Linked DNA regions of Homo sapiens: all the other regions are linked to region 1. Evidence: promoter capture Hi-C in human tissues and cell types (Jung and others, 2019). All regions are on one chromosome and are shown on one strand. Each heading gives the region's core, a stretch centred on a gene start or on the middle of the fragment in contact. The rest is flanking DNA. Distances are from core to core; before and after follow the strand shown. Region 1 holds the start of PBX3 (PBX homeobox 3). Region 2 overlaps MVB12B (multivesicular body subunit 12B). Region 3 overlaps MVB12B (multivesicular body subunit 12B). Region 4 overlaps MVB12B (multivesicular body subunit 12B).

Region 1 (4,575 bases), core at 27-2,526:
CCCACTGCGGGGCGCAGCGTCTTACCTGTTTTCTCTTTGATCTCACACAGGACGCTGAAGAGCGCTGGTTTCATTCTGTGACAGTTCAGGGCATGTTTCCTAAAAAACAAATAACGAAACACAAAGGTATTAGCATCACCTATGGAATAATATGGCGCCTTCCTTTAAGTTAGACCCAAGATTTAATTCCAGCCCCCCATTCTGGAAGGCCCTTTTGAACCGTGGGAAGTCAACAAAAACTCCAGTTGACTAGTTCCCGACAGCCAGCAAGCCCCGGCGGCGAAAGCTGCAGCCGGAACAAGGCGGACCCATCTGCCCGGCAGGCAGCAGCCTCGGCCACTGCAGACGCGACGCGAACCCGCGCGGGGAGCCTCGCCCCGGGGGCAGGCGAAGGCGACCCGGGGGAGGGGACGGGTGCGGAGGGGCTCCCGCGTCCGCTCCTGTGCAGAGGAGGCCGGCCGACTGCGGCCAGCGGGAGGGTGACAGCTCGGCAAAGTTTGCAAGGCGGCCCTCCCTCTCCGAGAACTTGGCCGTCCGCACCCGGACCCGCCAGGGAACCGCCCATCGCCCCGCGCCGGGCCCGGGTGGCCGCCCGCATCGCGAGGTCGTCCCGCGGCCGCGGGAGCCGGCGCCGGGACTCCCCGCCGGAGGAGAAAGTTACACTTCCCGGCGGCGCGGCCCGCACGGGGTCGGGGCGGGAGGTTTAAATCCCTGGGAGGGGGCCGGGCTGCGAGGGGCAGGACGGGGGAAAGGACGCCACGGAATCCGCGCCGCACCGAGTCCGTCCCGAGCCCCCCAGAGCAACTTTGCCGACTCCCGCCCGCTTCGGGGGGCGCGGGCAAGTCCCCCCGAGGCCGGGGCGGGCGGCCGGCTTTCGGAGAAAGTTCCCCGCCGGGGGCTGCGGCCCTAGCCCCGGGCGCCACCCCGGGCCTCGACTCGGCCGCGGGCCCGGCTCCCGCACACACACAAAAGATGCTTAATGAGACGACACCAACTTTGCTTGCGCCTCGTCCAAGCTCTGGTCGGTGATGGTCATGATCTGGTGGAGGATGTCGCCGATGTCCTGCTTCCTGCCGTCGCCGTCCGCCCCTTCGTGGCCGTGCGGGGGAGGCGGCAGGGCCATGCCCCCCTGCACCGAGTGGCCAGCCAGGTTCACCCCGGCCAGAGTCTGCAGCATCCTGGATTGATCGTCCATCCCGCCGCGCGCGGGCGGGAGCGGGCGGCGGCTGAGGCGAAGGCTGAGGCGGCGGCGGCGGCGGCGGCGACGAGGGAGGAGAAGAAAGAGGGGGAGGGGGAGGGGGAGGCGGCCGCGCGCTCCCCGCCCGCGCGGGGAGGGGGCGGCCCGGCCGGCAGGGCCCGCGGCTGAGGCGATGAGGACGGGCGCCCGGCTCCGGCTTCCGCCGCCGCCGAGGCTGAGGAGAAGCGGCGGGCGGAAGCGCCGGGCTCCGCGGCGGTGGCGGAGGCGGAGGCGGCGGCGCCCGCTGCCCTCACGCGGCCGCCGCGCCGCCTCCTCGCCGCCGCGCGCCCCGCCGGGCGGCCCCGCGCAACTTGCTCCTCAGCGCCCGCCGAGTTGCCGGGACGCCCGCCGCCCCCCGCGCCAGCCTGCGCACTGCCCTCCTCGGCCGCCGCCGCCGCCTCGGCCAGGCGGGATCCGAGCCCCGGCGGCCCCGGGGGAGGCAGCGGCGGCGGCGGCGGGCGGCGGCGGAGGAGGAGGCCTGCGGGCGGGCCGCGGGGAGCGAGGGGGGGCGGAGGAGGAAAGTTTGGGAGCGGGCGGGCAGAGGCGGCGGGGGCGCTGAGCCCGGAGGAGGGCCCCGGCGGGCCGCGCGCCGGGCGGACAGCCGATGGATAGGGCGGGAGAAGTCGCCGCCGCCGCCGCCGGAGCCGCGCACCCAGCCAGCAGCCGCCGCGGACCGGGCTGGAAGGCCGCTGGGCCGAGGGATTGACAGGCTGCCAGTGCCACTCACTCACTGCGGCCCCGCGCCGGGGGGAGGGACGGGGGCTGGCAAGGGCGGGGGAGCGCTCCTCAGACCCCGCCCCCGGGGCGGTGCGCGCGCTCATTGGGCTCTGCGCCTCCCGCCGCCGCCGCCGGCACCGCCCCCGGGGCCCGGCCCGTTCCCTCTGGCCTCTGATACTCCGCGCTCCGGAGTGTGCCGCCGGATCCTCGCTCCAACCTCGTCGCGTCCTAGCCCCCCGGGATAGACCGGGCCGGCCCACAAACGGTGTGCCCGCACCCCGACTCCTGCTCCATGCTTTTGGCAGTCATGGGAGCGGGGGGTTGTGTATGGGACAGTGGGCAACTCGCTGCAAAGCCAACCGTGTGCTCCCCCGCCGCGCCCGTGAGCTTCACGCCTCGGACAGCTCCTGGTGCACTTTCCCGCTCTTCCTGTCAGGAGGTGGTGCCCTCTGGGTACCAGGCCGCTCGTCCCGGGCCAATCGCAAAGCGCTTAGAGCCGAATGGGGCGGGACAGAGGCAAGAAAGGGTCGTCCCAATTGGAGCGTTCGAAAGGTTCTGGGCAGAGGCGGGGAAGCGGCGAGTGGGGGCCTCGCCCCGCCTGCGGTCGCCATGGTAACCGAGAGGGCGCAGCTCAGCGTTGGCGCCAGCACCGGGGTCTTGTGCTGTCCCTCAATGGGTGACCAGTTAAGGTGGGAACCTGTGGTCTCACATACTTGAAGTCTGAGCTGAGTGGACCTGACTGCCATAGACTTTCCATTGAAAGGGGAAATGTGTCAGAGAGAAGCGAGTCTGGGAGGAGGGAAAGTGCCTTCAGTCCAGGACTAATTTCAAGGTTTACAACACTTTACACACTCTGCAACTCCTGATAATCCAGGGACTACTCCTTTGGCAGCGTTTGCTATTCGATGCCTCCAGATGTACTGAAGCTGCAAAAACGAGCTCTTCATTACAAAGATACGTTTGTTTAGGAAGAGACTGGATTTCACTTGTCAACTTACCCCATCACCACGAGTCATTTAATGTTGGTAACGCCAGCCACGATTTTTCGTATCTATAACACCCCTTCTTCCATTGAATTCTACCTACAAATAACTGAAGGCTCACATTATTTTGGAATATGGACCTCCGCCTCTTGTGGAGACTTGAGATTGCTCTTAAGCTGATTTCCCAAACAGGGGCTGCAATGTGTGTTCCCGATTTTAGATTCATTGAGCTCACCCTAGATGAGTCCTTTGGTTCGGTGGTTCGGAAAAGTCTCTTTGTTCCTTCTCCAAACTCAGTAAGCTGTCTTACCTGAAACCAAAAATAGGGGTATGAGGATATGAAAAATGGCTCTTACTCTGCAGGGTTTAATGTAGGACAAGCAGTTCTTTAAATGCCAGATGGATTCTTGGAATGAAGCAGGCTACTCGGTTCCAGGTTCTTTCCTTCATATGTTGTGTGTACTTTTAAATACTCCCCACTGCAAAGCTAATAGCTAAGCTTACAGTTAGGCAAGCTAAAATCCTTACAAACTGCACAGCTGCTGAGGAGGGAGTTCCAAAAAATCCACTCTGCTTACTTACCTCCAAAGAAGAACCCCCTTCATGTTCATTAATATTCTCTGCTCTTCTATACCCCATTGATATGTCAAGTTTCCAATTCTTCTTTGAAGCCCCCATTATGGGTTACTTATAATCGTCATTGATTGGGTTTTTTCTTTATTCTTAATTTGTTTTTTAAAGCTGTCACCAAATTCTTAAGCATTTTTGCCAAAAGGCGCAGGAGCAAGCGGTCAACCTTTCATAATTCTCCAACGCTGAGGATGCAAAACCACAGAATTCTAACTGAAAGATGCCTTAAATTCTAAGATTCCTTCCAGCTGTAAAATTCAATAATCCTGTGACTCACTATTAGGACTCCTCTCTGCCCTCCTTCTAGACTCATAATCTTGACTAATCAGTCATGAGGATGAGGCTAATTAGCAATGGGGATTTATGGTTATTTCTAGCCCACTCCGAACAATGAGTTATGTAAGCAAAGCAACATATATAAAAATGTAAATAGGCCGGTGGCTCATGCCTGTAATCTCAGAACTTTGGGAGGCCGAGGCAGGTGGATCACAAGGTCAGGAGTTGAGACCAGCCTGGCCAACATGGTGAAACCCCATCTCTACTAAAAATACAAAAAATTAGCTGGGCTTGGTGGCAGGCGCCTGTAATCCCAGCTACTCAGGAGGCTGAGGCAGGAGAATCACTTGTACCCAGGAGGTGGAGGTTGCGGTGAACTGAGATTGTGCCACTCCCCTCCAGCCTGGGCGACAGAGTGAGACTTCTTTTCAAAAAAAAAAAAAAAAAGTAAATAAAGAAACACTTAAGCAAATAAAGGCAATTGGGAACTATGGGCTGTGTAAACACACTGGAACATAAAAACATAAATTAGAATTAAGAAAACAGTTAGGCAAATGCCAGCAATTAGGAATAAAACAACTTGTTAAATGTCTAACACCCACAGTTATTTTATGGTACACTCCTCTACACCCATGGTCATTCAGTGATGTGGAAACTTGATACCATAATTCTGCCTTAAGTGATTGAATTAGACTGACCTTCTGCTTGGGAGGCTTCTCTTTTTGTTGTTAT
Region 2 (4,373 bases), core at 1,776-4,275, 650 kb before region 1:
TACAGAAGCAGCATCGACGACGGCTTGAGGACCTCTGAAACCAAGGCCCACTGCTCTGTGCCCTCCCTGCCCACTGCAGGGCCCTGAAGTTCTCTGGACAAGGTGTCTGTGACCCTAACACGTAGTTCTGCCGAACCTGAATTTCTGTAGGTGGGGAGAGGGAATATGACAAGTTCCTTAAATACGGCTTAAGAAACACTGATTGCTCTAGTTCTCCTGCAGTCTGAAGGATCCAAATGCCGTCTGACCACCCCTAGCATCTGGGAGCGCATCACCCCTCAGGTCAGCTTCTTGATGCCACAGAATTTTCACCTTGGGGAAGCTGTCTTTACTGATTTTTTTAAAGTGTTAAGCCTAAATCTATCTCCTTGTAACTTCAGTCCACCTGACCTAATTCTGCCTTCTGGAGCCCCCAGCCATCTCTCCACCCCTCCATCCCCACCTGGAAACACTTCTACTTTCTCTCCTGCCATTGACCCTTAAGACATCTGCAGCAGGCTGGCCTGTCTCTACTCAGCTCCAAACTGGATTCCTCAAACTTGACACTGGATTTGGGTAACCTCTGCCTGGTGGTGTGAGGCAGTGCACACGCCCCAGGAGCAGGACTCCACTCAGGGCCTCCCGCTGTGCACACCAGGCTGTACTCCACACACCCACGCTCCGACCCCCGCCATTTCACACACTTAGCTGCTAAGCCAGGCCTCAGTTTGGCTCCTGTGTGATGGATTTTTGAACCTCGGGGGCCCTCTCCGCCTGCGCCCATCGCCTCCCATGGCTCCAGCAGGTTGTTCTGGCTGTAGAGGAGATGCAGAGTATTGATTCTATCATTCAGCACGTCAGCTCACCCTAATGACTCTGCATCATCTGCAAATTTGATAAGCATGCCTCTGATGTCTTTATCAAGCCATGGTTCTGCTGCTTGCTGAGCTAGAGGGCTGCAGCCCACCAGGGGACTCCTCCTGGGTCGACACAGAGCCATTCCCTTATCACACTGGGGACTTCTGGTGCTCCAGCGGTTGTGAGCCCACCTGCCTCCTGGGGCTCTTCCCAACCTCTGTCCCAGCAGCAGCGGAACCTCTTCTTCCCAGCAGAAACAGGTGACGCCCTGCATGTGACAGACGGTGGAGGGGCTGCTCTGATAGAGGCCAGGAAGGTGTTTCCTCTCTTGGCCCCCTGCCCCAGACAGCATCACAGAGCTGAATCAGAAACCCCACCATCTGATCACATGCCCAAGGCTGACTCACAAAGCTGGGCCCAGCCCCAAAGAGGGCCACAGAGATGGGACTGTGCCTCCGTCCCCAGGCCAGCTCTCTCCTGTTGATCGACGTGCATGACATAGGCAGGCAGGGGATGGAGCGCCTGCGGCCAGAGATATGGAGAGGCTCTGGGTCCCAGAAGAAGTGGCTGCCCTTCTTCACTAGAAGACAGTCAAGAGATGTGTGTGGCGATGTCTGTATGTGAGATGAAGCATCACTGTATGAGGGAGAGGAGCTCTGCCAAGCTACCTTCTACCACCTTAGCCACCAACTCACTGGATACAGCCCAGGAGCATCCCTCTCCCTGGGGACCTGCCTGCTCCAAAAGGACAACTCCAAAGCCGGTGACACCACAGCATTTTCTGCAATAACGGAGCTTCTGCGGGAAGCTCCTGCTTCTAGAGGCAGTTCCTGCTTTTGGACAGAGAAGGCAGTGCTGCTAGAACCACGAGGTCCTCAGGTGATGGCCTACAGACGGTGCAAAGATCCACCTTTGTCTGAAGTAAAGCTGGGAATGAACGGCATTCCAAAAAATGGCAGGAAATTCTTTGAAATCTGAGCGATGACACAAGAAATGGAGGCGGAGCACATGGTTTTGGCTTTGGAGAGGAATACAGACTCAAGAAGGCAGCAAGATCTGTGACCCACCGCTTCCTAGGTCCTCCTGGCTGGCCTGGGCCAGGGCTCTGCGGCGAAAGAGCCTGCCACTAGCTCCGGCTCAGAACCGCATTCCCCGCCACCGCCACGGCTGGGCAGTAGAGGGCGCTGCGTCACCGCGCTCCCAGAGGCCCGATCCACGCCACACAAAGACCGCACTGGACGTGGTTCTCAGGTTTATGGTTAAGGCTACCTGAGAAAAGAGTAGCAAGATGCAGACTTGCTATTACACGATATGATATCACCTATGTAAAAAGTACACAAGAAAAAGACTTGAGGGAAATATAACAAAAGGTTATAAGCATCTGCTCGTGGGAAATGGAATTCCTGTTTTTTCATACTTTCTACATTCTGCCAATTTTCTACAAGCCTGGATTACTCTCGCCATAGGAAAAGACCCGCGCAGTGCTCAGGGACCAGGGAGTAGTCTGGAGGGGTTGCCAGGGACGCATTTATGGTGAAACTGAATTCGTGCCTGGATTCAGGTAGGCGCTGGGGAGCTCCTCGGAGGCTCACCACATGCCCTCACCACCACACGGGCTCGAGATGCCCCGGAAGCGCTCACAGAAGAAGACCCAGCACAGGCCCAGCCCAGGAGCCTCTGGGAGGGCTTCCCGGGAGAGAAGTCCTCTGCGCTGAGACCTGTCAAACACACCTCATGTGCAGGGAGCACCGGGAGCAAAGGCGCAGAAGCCAGGGGAGGAGGAGGCTGCCAGCGCACGTTAATGTCTGGGGCTCTGGCTGGGAAAGGGAAGACAGGAAATCCCGGAGCTGGTGTGCAGCCCTGCAGGCCCCACTGAGGGGCCTGCCTTACCCTATAGGCTCCTGGTAGACCCCCAGCACTCGGAGCACAAGCCCCAGCCACTGCTCCCCACCAGAGGGGAGGTGATCAGATTCCTCCTCTGGAGAGTGTAGAGACCTGAAGCCTCAAGGAATAAAACAGCATACTCATCCTTTCCTAGGTCTTCAATGGAAAATTTGAATGAATAATCAACATTTCATTTTAAAATAAATCAAAGATACTGGATAGGAAAACAACACACAAAAAAACCCCACAAAAACCAAAAAACCCTGATGGATGAGGCTTACATAGGTGTGCATCCTACCTGTAAATTACCGCACAGGAGAACTTGGGACAGACAAATGGCTTTTACTTGGAAGCACTAATGAACATTCAATTATCCTGTTGCATATTGGCTGACTTAACTCAGCCAAATTAGAATACATTTTATATTGACTATTTTGACATTTGTTTTATTTGGCAAGTAAAACAAAACTGATCCGATTTCCTTGCAGCCATTGTAAACCATAAACTGTACAGCAGAGGTGATAAAATACATAAGCCTTATAAACATCTGGTTCTGACGCACTACCCTCCAAACCCACCAGGCTGCCGGTGGCTCGGTGTTCTCGGCTGTCTTGCTTCAGGTGCAAGTGACTTTGCTCTCACAGTCACCAGCAGGCTTCTGAGAGCTCTCTCTGCTTTATCTGAGAGAACTGGTGTTCTTTCTTTAACCACAGAAAGTCAAAACCTGCCTGAGGTGGTGCCCATTTCTGGGCCCTTCTAGACCACATGATGTCAGCAGGGAGCAGCTGTAACAACTTCAGGGCAACTGCTCCTGTGGGGGCTTTCCAGCCTCTGCAAGGAGCCCACACTTGAGCTGCTCCAAGTACAAGTGATGGGCCTCAGCACAGGTGATGGAGGACCCCGACACACAGGTGATGGACTTAGCTGACTCCCCAGCACAGGTGACACACCTGATATAGCCTTGAGCACAGGAGACAGTGACCCTCAGCAGTGCCCTCCAGGGCGGAGCTGACAGCGCTCTGGCTCAGAAGTGAGGAACAAGTGCTGATGGGCAGTGCGAACCTCACACTCTTGAACCCAACAGAGACTCAACTGTTCACCCTGCAACTCTGGGAGGCTTATTAGAGATTCCTATCTTTTTATGCCAAATGAAACTGAAAACTACTTCTAAAGTTTCAGGCAATTCCAGGGGTAGTTAAGTTTAAATACCACTCTTGGTTTGTGAAACTGTCATGAGAAGGACCAGATTGTCTTTATAGGGGGATGTCCCAGAGGACAGAGTCCTCAGGGCTTTGGAGCCTCATTACAGCACATTCTTCCAAGTGAGACGGAGGCTTGGCACAGAGGAACAGAGTACAGAGAGCTGGTGGTATGTCCCGGAGGGCAGGCTGTATTGTGGATGGCCCAGGAAGACCTACTGGTGACTCTTCTGTCCGGTTCCTGACAGATTTTGTTCATCTCTATTCACCCACGTGGAAGCTTGGAGATCCATTCTCATTTACGTTATGTCAATCCCTAAGTGTTGCTGCCTCACCGTTCTTGTTTTATTTACTTTTGCAATCCCTTTCTCAAGCTTAATCCATCAGTGCTGTTTGTTCCTTGCCCTTAGTTTACTCCTAGTGATGCACAGGATTTTTATTTGACAGGATTCT
Region 3 (4,350 bases), core at 1,516-4,015, 590 kb before region 1:
TTGCCCAGGCTGGAGCGCAGTGGCGCAGTCTCGGCTCACTGCAACCTCTGCCTTCTGGGTTCAATCGATTGTCCTGCCTCAGTCTCACGAGTAGCTGGGATTACAGGCACGCACCACCACGCCCAGCTAATGTTTTGTATTTTTAGTAGAGATGGGGTTTCACCATGTTGGCCAGGCTGGTCTTGAACTCCTGACCTCAAGTGATCTGCCCACTTCGGCCTCCCAAAGTGCAGGGATTACAGGAATGAGCCACCATGCTTGGCCATAAGCATTTATTTAGAAAGGCAAAGGAATGTGGGTGAAAGGTAAAATGTGTATTGCTGGAAACACACCCAACAATGATTCTCAGTAATGTCCAGCTTGATGCCCTTTAGACACTGCAACATCCCAGAGTGGCTTGTAAATCAAAGGTTACATTCTGCACACAGGCACTGTAGCCGGAAGTGCTTCTTATAGCATTACAATTCTTCGAAAACTGACCATCCACCCAGGATAAAACAGCATGCACTACCTTTGGCAAACACTAGTCATCTATGACATATAGTCACTACTCCGGGCACGTGGCATCACAAAGATGCACGAGACTCACCCCAACTCTGACTGCAAGGGGAGAGAAGCACCAGTCACTCCCAGATAGTGTGGGTGCAGAACAGAAAAGCGAGGCTCTTTCAGAGAGGACCGCAGACGTCGGAACAATAAATTGAGAAGTTTAGCAAATAATCCCCAGCCCCCTAGCCTAAGAAGGCTCCCCTGACCCAGAGAGAAGGGAAGTTATTGAATTAAATTTTTATAAATGAACATTTGGCACCTTTTACCTCAAGCAGCAATGGGACCTAAGCTCATTTTAAAGCAGTTGTGCTACTCAGGGCCACCAGTCCATCTGGTGCCTAACTCGCAGGGCTGCGTGGTGGCAGTACTTAACGGGCTCTGTGCGCAGGGAGAAATTAATCCTACAGCAGCTACAACAGACAGAGAGAGGTCTCGGCCCAATCCGCAGCAGGGCTTCCTCATCTGCTGGAGTTCTGTCTAAGCATCTCTGCAGCCTAGCCACCACAGAGCGCCTTGCACTTTGGTTTGGATATTGACTTAATATGAAACTCCAGATAAAAGGAATGAGAAGTCTCTCTTCTCACCATGCCCTCCCCGCCTTCCTTGAACTTGGGGCCAGACCTCTGGGGAACGAGACGCTTATCTGCACACAGTCCAGAGGCCAGTACCAAGAGGGGACTCCCACCTCTCTCCCTGTTAGGGCTTTCAGAGGGAGCCCAGGCAGTCTCCACCTCGGCCGTGCAGAGCTGGGTAATTACCGGGCGGATGAGCTCAAGCCCCTTGCCCTGCTAACCTCCCACTAAAATGCATGGCACAGCACAATCATGAAATGTGCTTATTAATTTTACTCATTTGACACTGCGCTCTTCTGCCCTGAGCTAGATGTTAGGAGAAAATGATAGGGATAGATTCTGCTCCTGTCAGACTTACCAAGACTTCCAGAAAACCAAACTATCAAAGGCCATCTGCCACCCACTACCCAGGCAAGCAGGATGACCCTAAAGGTACAAACGGAATGCTAAAGATACAGATCAACAAAAGAGGGCATGGGAAGATGGGGAGACCCCTGCCTTGGGCTCAAGCTCCCTGAGAGCCCTCCTAGGAGAGCGACCCCTGAGCCCGTCCTCTCCCACAGCGGGAACTCCCAGTCCCTGCCTTGATTCATGACTTGCTGCTTCATCCCTAATTCATCAAAAGACACTTTGGCTTCTCAAATCAGGAACATTTTTATTAGCTTCCCCCAGAGTTTCGTGGCACAAAGCCATACCTAATGATTCTATTTTATGGAAAGTTATACATTCAAACCACACTTTGAAGTCAAGCAGCAGCTAAGACTGAAATGTTTGTCAGAAAAGTTTCCTTCACTTTTTCACTTTTAAAATGTTTATGAGCTTTCAAACAGTTGGAGAAGGGATGTGTAGCATTTGAACAGGCTCCTCCTTCCTTACCCAGGACCCAGCACTGGCTGACTCAGTACAGATCTGCCTTGACCATTGCAGTTCTCAATGGGGGGTGATTCTGCCCAGCCACCCCCTGCTCCTGGAGACATCTGGCTACGTCTGGAGACATTTTGGGTTGTCACCACTGGGGGAGGAGGGACAGGTGCTACTGGTATTCACTAAGGAGAGGCCAGGAATGCTGCTAAACATCATACGATGCACAGGAAAACATATAGCAAAGAATTATTGGATTGTCTTGCCCTAAATGTCAACAGTGCTGAAGTTGGGAAACCCTGCCTTAGGGCTTCTTCTGCTGGACCAGGCATCACATTCTCCTCACTGCAGGACATCAGAGACTATTCTAATTGCTGTGGGAGGTTTTCAGTGTTGGCTAATGAGATTCGTGTTCTTTCACTCTTATGCATTCTTGGTGCACATTTTCAGTGAATAAGAACAAAACGTCACAAACAAAGTGAGGAAAGTAAACATAAGACCACCTTAGAATCTCAGAACACATGATAATATCCACTGTTAATTAAACCCTCCTAACGTTCCTCTGTACTTTGCAAGCTCCACCCGAATCAGAATTTACCTACTGAAACAACAACATAACCAGTTCCAATCATCAGGACTACTGAACACCAGCACAGATGTCTGCTGAAAAGCAAGGAAAGTTCTCCACTAAACTGTGGTGGTGTGGTCAGCCACAGCACTGGACTTGGAGGGGGTCTGGTCCTGATGATTCACCATATCCAAGGACTGGGACTCTGTTACTTGACTTCTCAGAGCGTGGGTTCTCCTAATCAGCAAAGAGGTGATACAGCTACTTGCCCTCCCAGCCTTCCAAAAGCCCAAGAGAGCTAAATGAGTTCATGGGTAGGAAACATTTTAAACTGTAAAGAGCTACACAGACGTAGGACAATGCCTTTACAATATTTACACATGCATGACAATATATGAAAACCACCAGGAGTCGTTCATAGACTCTGGATCCTTTTCACGAAATGTCACAACCAGAAGTTGAAAATCAATGAATCTAACTCCTTAATTTTACAGAAGGTGAAAATGACCATCACAGAGGTGGTCAAGGCCAGGAAACGGCCCAGATGGGCTCAGGTCTTCTGACTCCCAAACCAGGATGCTCTCCACGCCCTCCCTGGATTAAGTTCCTAGAGGGAAGAAGCACATCTTACACGCAAGGGCCAGAAGGTCTTGGACACAGGAGATAAATACTTGTAGAATCAGTGAGCAAAATGTACAAACTAGTATCTTGACTTACTACGTCATAGCCTGTCGGGGCTCGGTTCCGAGAAGCCACCACCCCGACTCCCGTGATGGGATCCATTGACGTTTCTGGCAAGGCTTCTGAGAGGTCTTTGACTTCAGGCATGGTGGACTGGTCCTGGTTCAGCAAAGGAAAAAGAAAACACAAAATTCAAACATAGCATTTATGTGAATAATATAAAGTCTCAAACAGAACCAGAATCTTGGGGCAAATACCCTGAGTTTCACATACCTGTACTGGTTGAATGAGTCCTGACCCTATGTGACCCTTTCCCCAGGTCAAGAATTCAAATCACCTCTGTTTCCCACTCTTCTCAGGTTAGCTTTGAACACTGAGCTAAGATGAGAGCTTGTCTCTACTCTCAGGAGGTGAGCTTGACTCAAACCCAAGAGCACGTCATTCTTAACTCCGCCATCCAGCTGCTTGATTTCTGAACAGATACCAGTAGCTGCTCTGAAGACATGTCAGACACGGCTAAGCTTAACAACACCTTTCCTCTCTCTCCCTTGCAATCTCTCCTACGGAGGCCTAGACTTCCAAACCCACAGCCAAGGTTAGGCCTTCAGCACGCAGAGCTTTGCAAAGAAGCAAGGAATGTTGCAAACACAGAAATAAGTGTTCTGGGCTCAGGTGAAGGAATGGTGTTGGAGTCCAGGCTCCATGACTGACTAGCTGGTGACTTTGAGTAAGCAATTTAACCTCCTGGACCCTTCATTTTCTCAGCTATAAAAGGAGGTCATGATACTGACCCTTGCAGAGCTGCTGTGAGGACCAAGAGAGTCAAAGACAGTGGATGTAAATGAAAGGCCTGGAGAGGTCCCTGGTATACAGTAGGCGCTCAAAAAAAGCACATAAAACTGGTGGGGTTTGGGACACACAAGTCCAGGTAACTGGTCAGAAATGTGATAGGCGTCACTCCATAGGGGACTGGCAGATCCCTTTGTTGTGTTTTACCCTCGGGTCATGTGGGCACTTACTCAAAGCCAAATACTAACAATGATCATAATTCTTGCTGGGCACTTTGAGAGAAAGGGAGGGAAAATGGAATTATTATTCTGCTGCTGACTGCCTCTTGAT
Region 4 (4,164 bases), core at 164-2,663, 690 kb before region 1:
ACAGCATAAAGCCGTGCTTTAATTGGAAAGCTTCATTGCATTTTCCAATTATTTGGAGTAAATTAAAAGCAGATGCACATAGTTTAATAAGGAGTCTAATATCAGTTCCGGGAAATCAAAATTCATTGTCATTACTATGCCGTGATAGTTTTGCAAACTGTACTCAATTTCAGAGGTTTTCAAAAGAAAATCTGTCTATGCAATCTGTTAATTGTCATTCGGTTAATAACTGTTTAAATATCCGAACTACATAGCAGCTTCCTATTAAAAAAAATTAAACTATGGAGTTTACGCAAGCAAACAAATACAGCATGCCACTCCTGGGCTGGGCTGGACTTTTCAGACTTGCCTGTTCACCCTAAAACAATGGGAAGGCTCGAGAAACCCACCCACACGGCAGCTCAGCTCCAGAGCTGGAGGACAAAGAACAGCAATTTTGTACTTCTGCAAGCACCAGAGGTTACAGTACCATAAGACAGCTCTCTGTGGAAGGGCAGAAGCCATGTTATAAATTGTGTTTTCAGAGGTCTGCTCTGCTCAGCAAAAAATTAGCTTCCAAAGTTTTAATTGGTCCACCTAAAATAAATTCTTTTAATGAGTAAATTAACTGATTCAGGACACAAACATGGAAAAAATTAAAGAAAGCAAATGTTGTGAGCAATTCGCTTTTAAAAAATTGACCCAGGAAGGGCCATTCCCTTACTAGTTCATGACTCATGAGTGGAGTGCCCCTTAGGCTCTGCAGGGGCCAGCCACTGTGCCCACAAGTGGACTGGACTGCCAGACAAAGGACTATATGCTGAGCCACTACGGATTTAAGGAACCAGACCTTAAAGGTTACTCTTCATAAGGAATCTTGCTCACAGATGTAGTTACAGCTCCACAGCTGCAAGTTGCATACATACACATACATGTAGCTAAAGCATTTACAAATGAAAAGTCATAGGTATACTCAAACTAGTACACGTAACCTTTTCACTTTTATACTAAGTGGCAGACTTTTTCAAATCCTGTGTGTGTAAATTATAATAGGACAAGCAGTAATTGACTTTGAAACTCCACCCACTGCGAGGGCTACAATTAATCTGTTTTTAGCATAAGAACTGCTGCTCTGCAAAGTTCATAACTTGTAGGTTCTTTTTCCCAATCCAATTAAAACCTAAGAGTGTTCCTAAAAGGCGGCTGCACAGAATTTACTCTTCAGCTCCCGTTTCAAAGGGCGTATCTGCTAACATCCCAATCATCAAAGGGCAAGCCCCTCCAGACCAGAAAGGACCCCAAATGCCCGAACACGAGAGAGCCTCCTGGCAAAATAACCAGAAACTATGCTCAAAGATGAAGATAAAAGCAATTCTTGTGCAGTGATCCAAAAAACAGCATCTCTTTTTTTCCCCAAAATTACCTGTTTTAATAAAGTAGACATACTGTGCCAACTGAACCATTTAATTATCTGCAAAAATGATGAATCAAAACAATAGTTTGCAAAAATAAATGACTAACCTCTGATTAAAATGTCTGTCCTCATTAAATCCAAAGAAAAGGTATGATCTCTTTTTAAAAAATGTAGCCTGAAGAAACAAGCAGTCCCCCCGCATCTACAGCCGTACCCTTCACAGTGGCAGTGACCTGCCATGAGACGGGACATCTGAGGATGTTGTCTAATCTACTCTCTCCAACCCTGAGAAAAGACGGTGTGCCCCTGTGGCCTTCGAGCCTCTGGGTGCCGCCGGCCTGGCAGCAAGTGAGCTCAGGGACAGGGGACTTCCAGATGATGTGCTCGGTGGGTGGTGTGATTCTGGAGCAAGGAAAGAAACTTTTTTTTTTTTTTTTTGGCTAAAATAAGAGGTTCTGGGAGGGGAGTGGTTGGAAAGGAAGGAGCCAAGGCCAAAGAGAAAGAAAAAGAAAGGCAAAGAAGGAAAATCATTTAAAGGGTTGAGTGCCGATATGATCCCTTCTCAAACCAGAGCTGACTTGATGAAAAGGAACATGGAAAATTGAGGCTGATTTAAATGTTGAGAAGTTCTCTCTTTAAAATCATTTTACCCAGTAGCAAGCTAACATCTCCAGCAATTACACATTTCTGAACTAGAAGGGAGGGTTTGCCTTCTATTATGCCAAAAGTTTCCCTGAGCCATGCCAGGTCCCACCATTCATGAGCTCCCTCTGTCAGCTGCACCCTCTCCATCCCCGGCTGGACTTTTAGGTGAGGTCACACTGCAGGGTGAATGAGACCAGTGCCTTCTGGTATAATAAGCAGCAATTCCCTGGAATAACAATATTTACGGCAGTTATAGCAGCTCCACTTCTGGAGTGCCCTCTTGGTACTAGGCACTGGGTATTTCATGTACATTATCTTTAATCCTCAAATTCAGAAGAGAAAATATAATTCAAAATTACAAAAAAAAAAAGAAAACAGACTGCAATGTTATATAAACTGTCTAAAGTAATGTAGCTGGAAAGGGTGGATACAAAAGGGTGAACCAGTTCTAAGACCCAGGTCCTCTCAGAATCAACGAAACATTGAGTGTCATGGAACATCCCCTGTATGCTAGGCCCTGGGCTGGGCATTGGGCATCAGGCACACACCAGTGAAGGAGACATCATCTTGCCCTCCAGAATGAACCCTGAACTCCACATGATGACCAGAGATGGATCTCCTTTCTTAGAACTCGGAAACCAAGCAAATGGCCAGAGTTTTACAAGAAGCATAAATAGCCAAGGGGTTTCCTGGCCAAAGAAGCTACGTCTTGGGCCTACAAAAGGCACTACCACCTTTGGCAAAATAGGGGTGAGTGAAGGCCGTGCAATTCATGAGCCAAGGACCTTCTCACAGGAGTGAAACTGGCGTTTTGCTACACAGGGCATATTTCAGGTAAACACACAGGCAATGGAACATAAAGATAGGTGTGTTTATTGCCTCTAGGTAGCAAGCGATTAAGGACTTCTAAGTGTGTCACCAGAAGCGATGCTTAGGGCCACCGAGGCAAGCTTTACTCCCTCATTCAAAATTATGGATGTTGCCTCGCCAGTGGATCATGCGATCGTTCATGCTATAAAACAAGTCAGGCGTAAGAAACTGCTCTCTAACAAAGGATCTCAACCTTGGAGGAGAGTTCTGTATCATTCATTGTCTTACAGACAATTGTAAGACAAATCTGGGGAATCAAGAACCTTATTCTCTGGGATAGGTGATAAATATATTCCATCCAAACTCCAGGCTGCAGGATTGAAGATTTTTTTTTTTAAACATAAATGCATTTAGGACTATCACTGGCCATTAATAAAAAGAGGGAAAAAGCCATTCAGTATTCAGGGCACAAACACCAACTGTGTGACAGTAGTTGGATTCAGGTACTCTGTCCAAACAAGACAGGTGGCTTCGTTGTTCTAAAAAAGATCGGAATTTCTTTTGTCCTAATGTCAGCAGTTAAATGCATTCATTCTGACAAAAAAGGGGGACCCTCATACTGTGTAAGAGCTGAAAGATAAATCTCATCACCAAAGCTTGTGCGACTGTTCAACTTCTCCCCAAGTTCTGGCACCGCATGTATCCATCCTTAGCAGGCCATCGAGAGTTTACCCCAACTCGGAATCCAATGCCCTGCCACTACTGTCTTAACTCAGAGATGCTTGAGCTCGGCAATGCTGGCAGCTGGAGGACTCAGGGGGCTGGAAGCAGGCAGGAGTGGAAGCTGGGACTGGGAATGACTGGGTCACAGGTGAGGGTTATTCTGGAGCACTCACAGGGAATACTCACAAGGAATGCTCACGGGCTGCAATGGCTCAGTAATCTTGGGCTTGGGTTTAGGAGAAGTTGGCTCTTAGGAGGCCCAATCTAGAGAATGAAGCTTCCAAGCAGGAAAGGCAGGGCAGCACACAGGTGACTATCAGTTCAAACTAGAGCCCTGCCCATGGGCAGGGTACAGGGACTCACGGAACAGGAGAGCTAGAGTAGGGGAGAAGAACACTTGGGGGTCAGACCCAATAAGTGAAACGATGGGCTTGGGCTGCCCACCATCACTATAGGCTAAGAGAAGGCCACCACGAAGAGACATCCCAGTGCCAAGGGCTCCCCCAGACACAGGTTTATAGCAGCAAGGCTAGTGCAGCCCCCACTATGAAGGCAGAGGTTCTTTGATACCTGGTGTATCAAAGGGGATACCT

The links. The method cuts DNA at HindIII sites, captures the fragments that hold promoters and counts their contacts. A contact is called where the count stands out against the background at its distance.
Region 2: a fragment that was not itself captured here is called in contact with the fragment with the promoter of PBX3 in region 1 in 3 of the 25 tissues and cell types used here (dorsolateral prefrontal cortex, hippocampus and thymus).
Region 3: a contact is called between a fragment that was not itself captured here and the fragment with the promoter of PBX3 in region 1, in 2 of the 25 tissues and cell types used here (dorsolateral prefrontal cortex and hippocampus).
Region 4: a fragment that was not itself captured here is called in contact with the fragment with the promoter of PBX3 in region 1 in 2 of the 25 tissues and cell types used here (dorsolateral prefrontal cortex and hippocampus).

What each region holds. Positions count from the first base shown.
Region 1 is chr9:125,744,074-125,748,648 of GRCh38, reverse strand. It overlaps PBX3 (PBX homeobox 3), which reads right to left and starts at 1,276. Exons shown (of 9, transcript NM_006195.6): 1 at 996-1,276; 2 at 26-99. The coding sequence starts at 1,195. It overlaps PBX3-DT (PBX3 divergent transcript), which reads left to right and starts at 2,720. Exons shown (of 2, transcript NR_122032.1): 1 at 2,720-3,233. RefSeq lists silencers at 302-641, 912-1,441, 1,452-1,501, 1,752-2,181. The HindIII fragment of the contact is 5,465 bases long and covers 1-4,545 here.
Region 2 is chr9:126,396,308-126,400,680 of GRCh38, reverse strand. The region is part of intron 6 of MVB12B (multivesicular body subunit 12B); the gene reads right to left. Among named protein-coding and RNA genes, the nearest start is that of NRON, 12 kb to the left of the region's middle. RefSeq lists a silencer at 2,053-2,112. The HindIII fragment of the contact is 7,281 bases long and covers 1-4,373 here.
Region 3 is chr9:126,339,548-126,343,897 of GRCh38, reverse strand. It overlaps MVB12B (multivesicular body subunit 12B), which reads right to left. Exons shown (of 10, transcript NM_033446.3): 2 at 3,268-3,390. Among named protein-coding and RNA genes, the nearest start is that of MVB12B, 15 kb to the right of the region's middle. The HindIII fragment of the contact is 5,578 bases long and covers 1-4,350 here.
Region 4 is chr9:126,433,326-126,437,489 of GRCh38, reverse strand. All of the region lies in intron 7 of MVB12B (multivesicular body subunit 12B), which reads right to left. Among named protein-coding and RNA genes, the nearest start is that of NRON, 25 kb to the right of the region's middle. RefSeq lists an enhancer at 1-1,369. The HindIII fragment of the contact is 5,330 bases long and covers 1-4,078 here.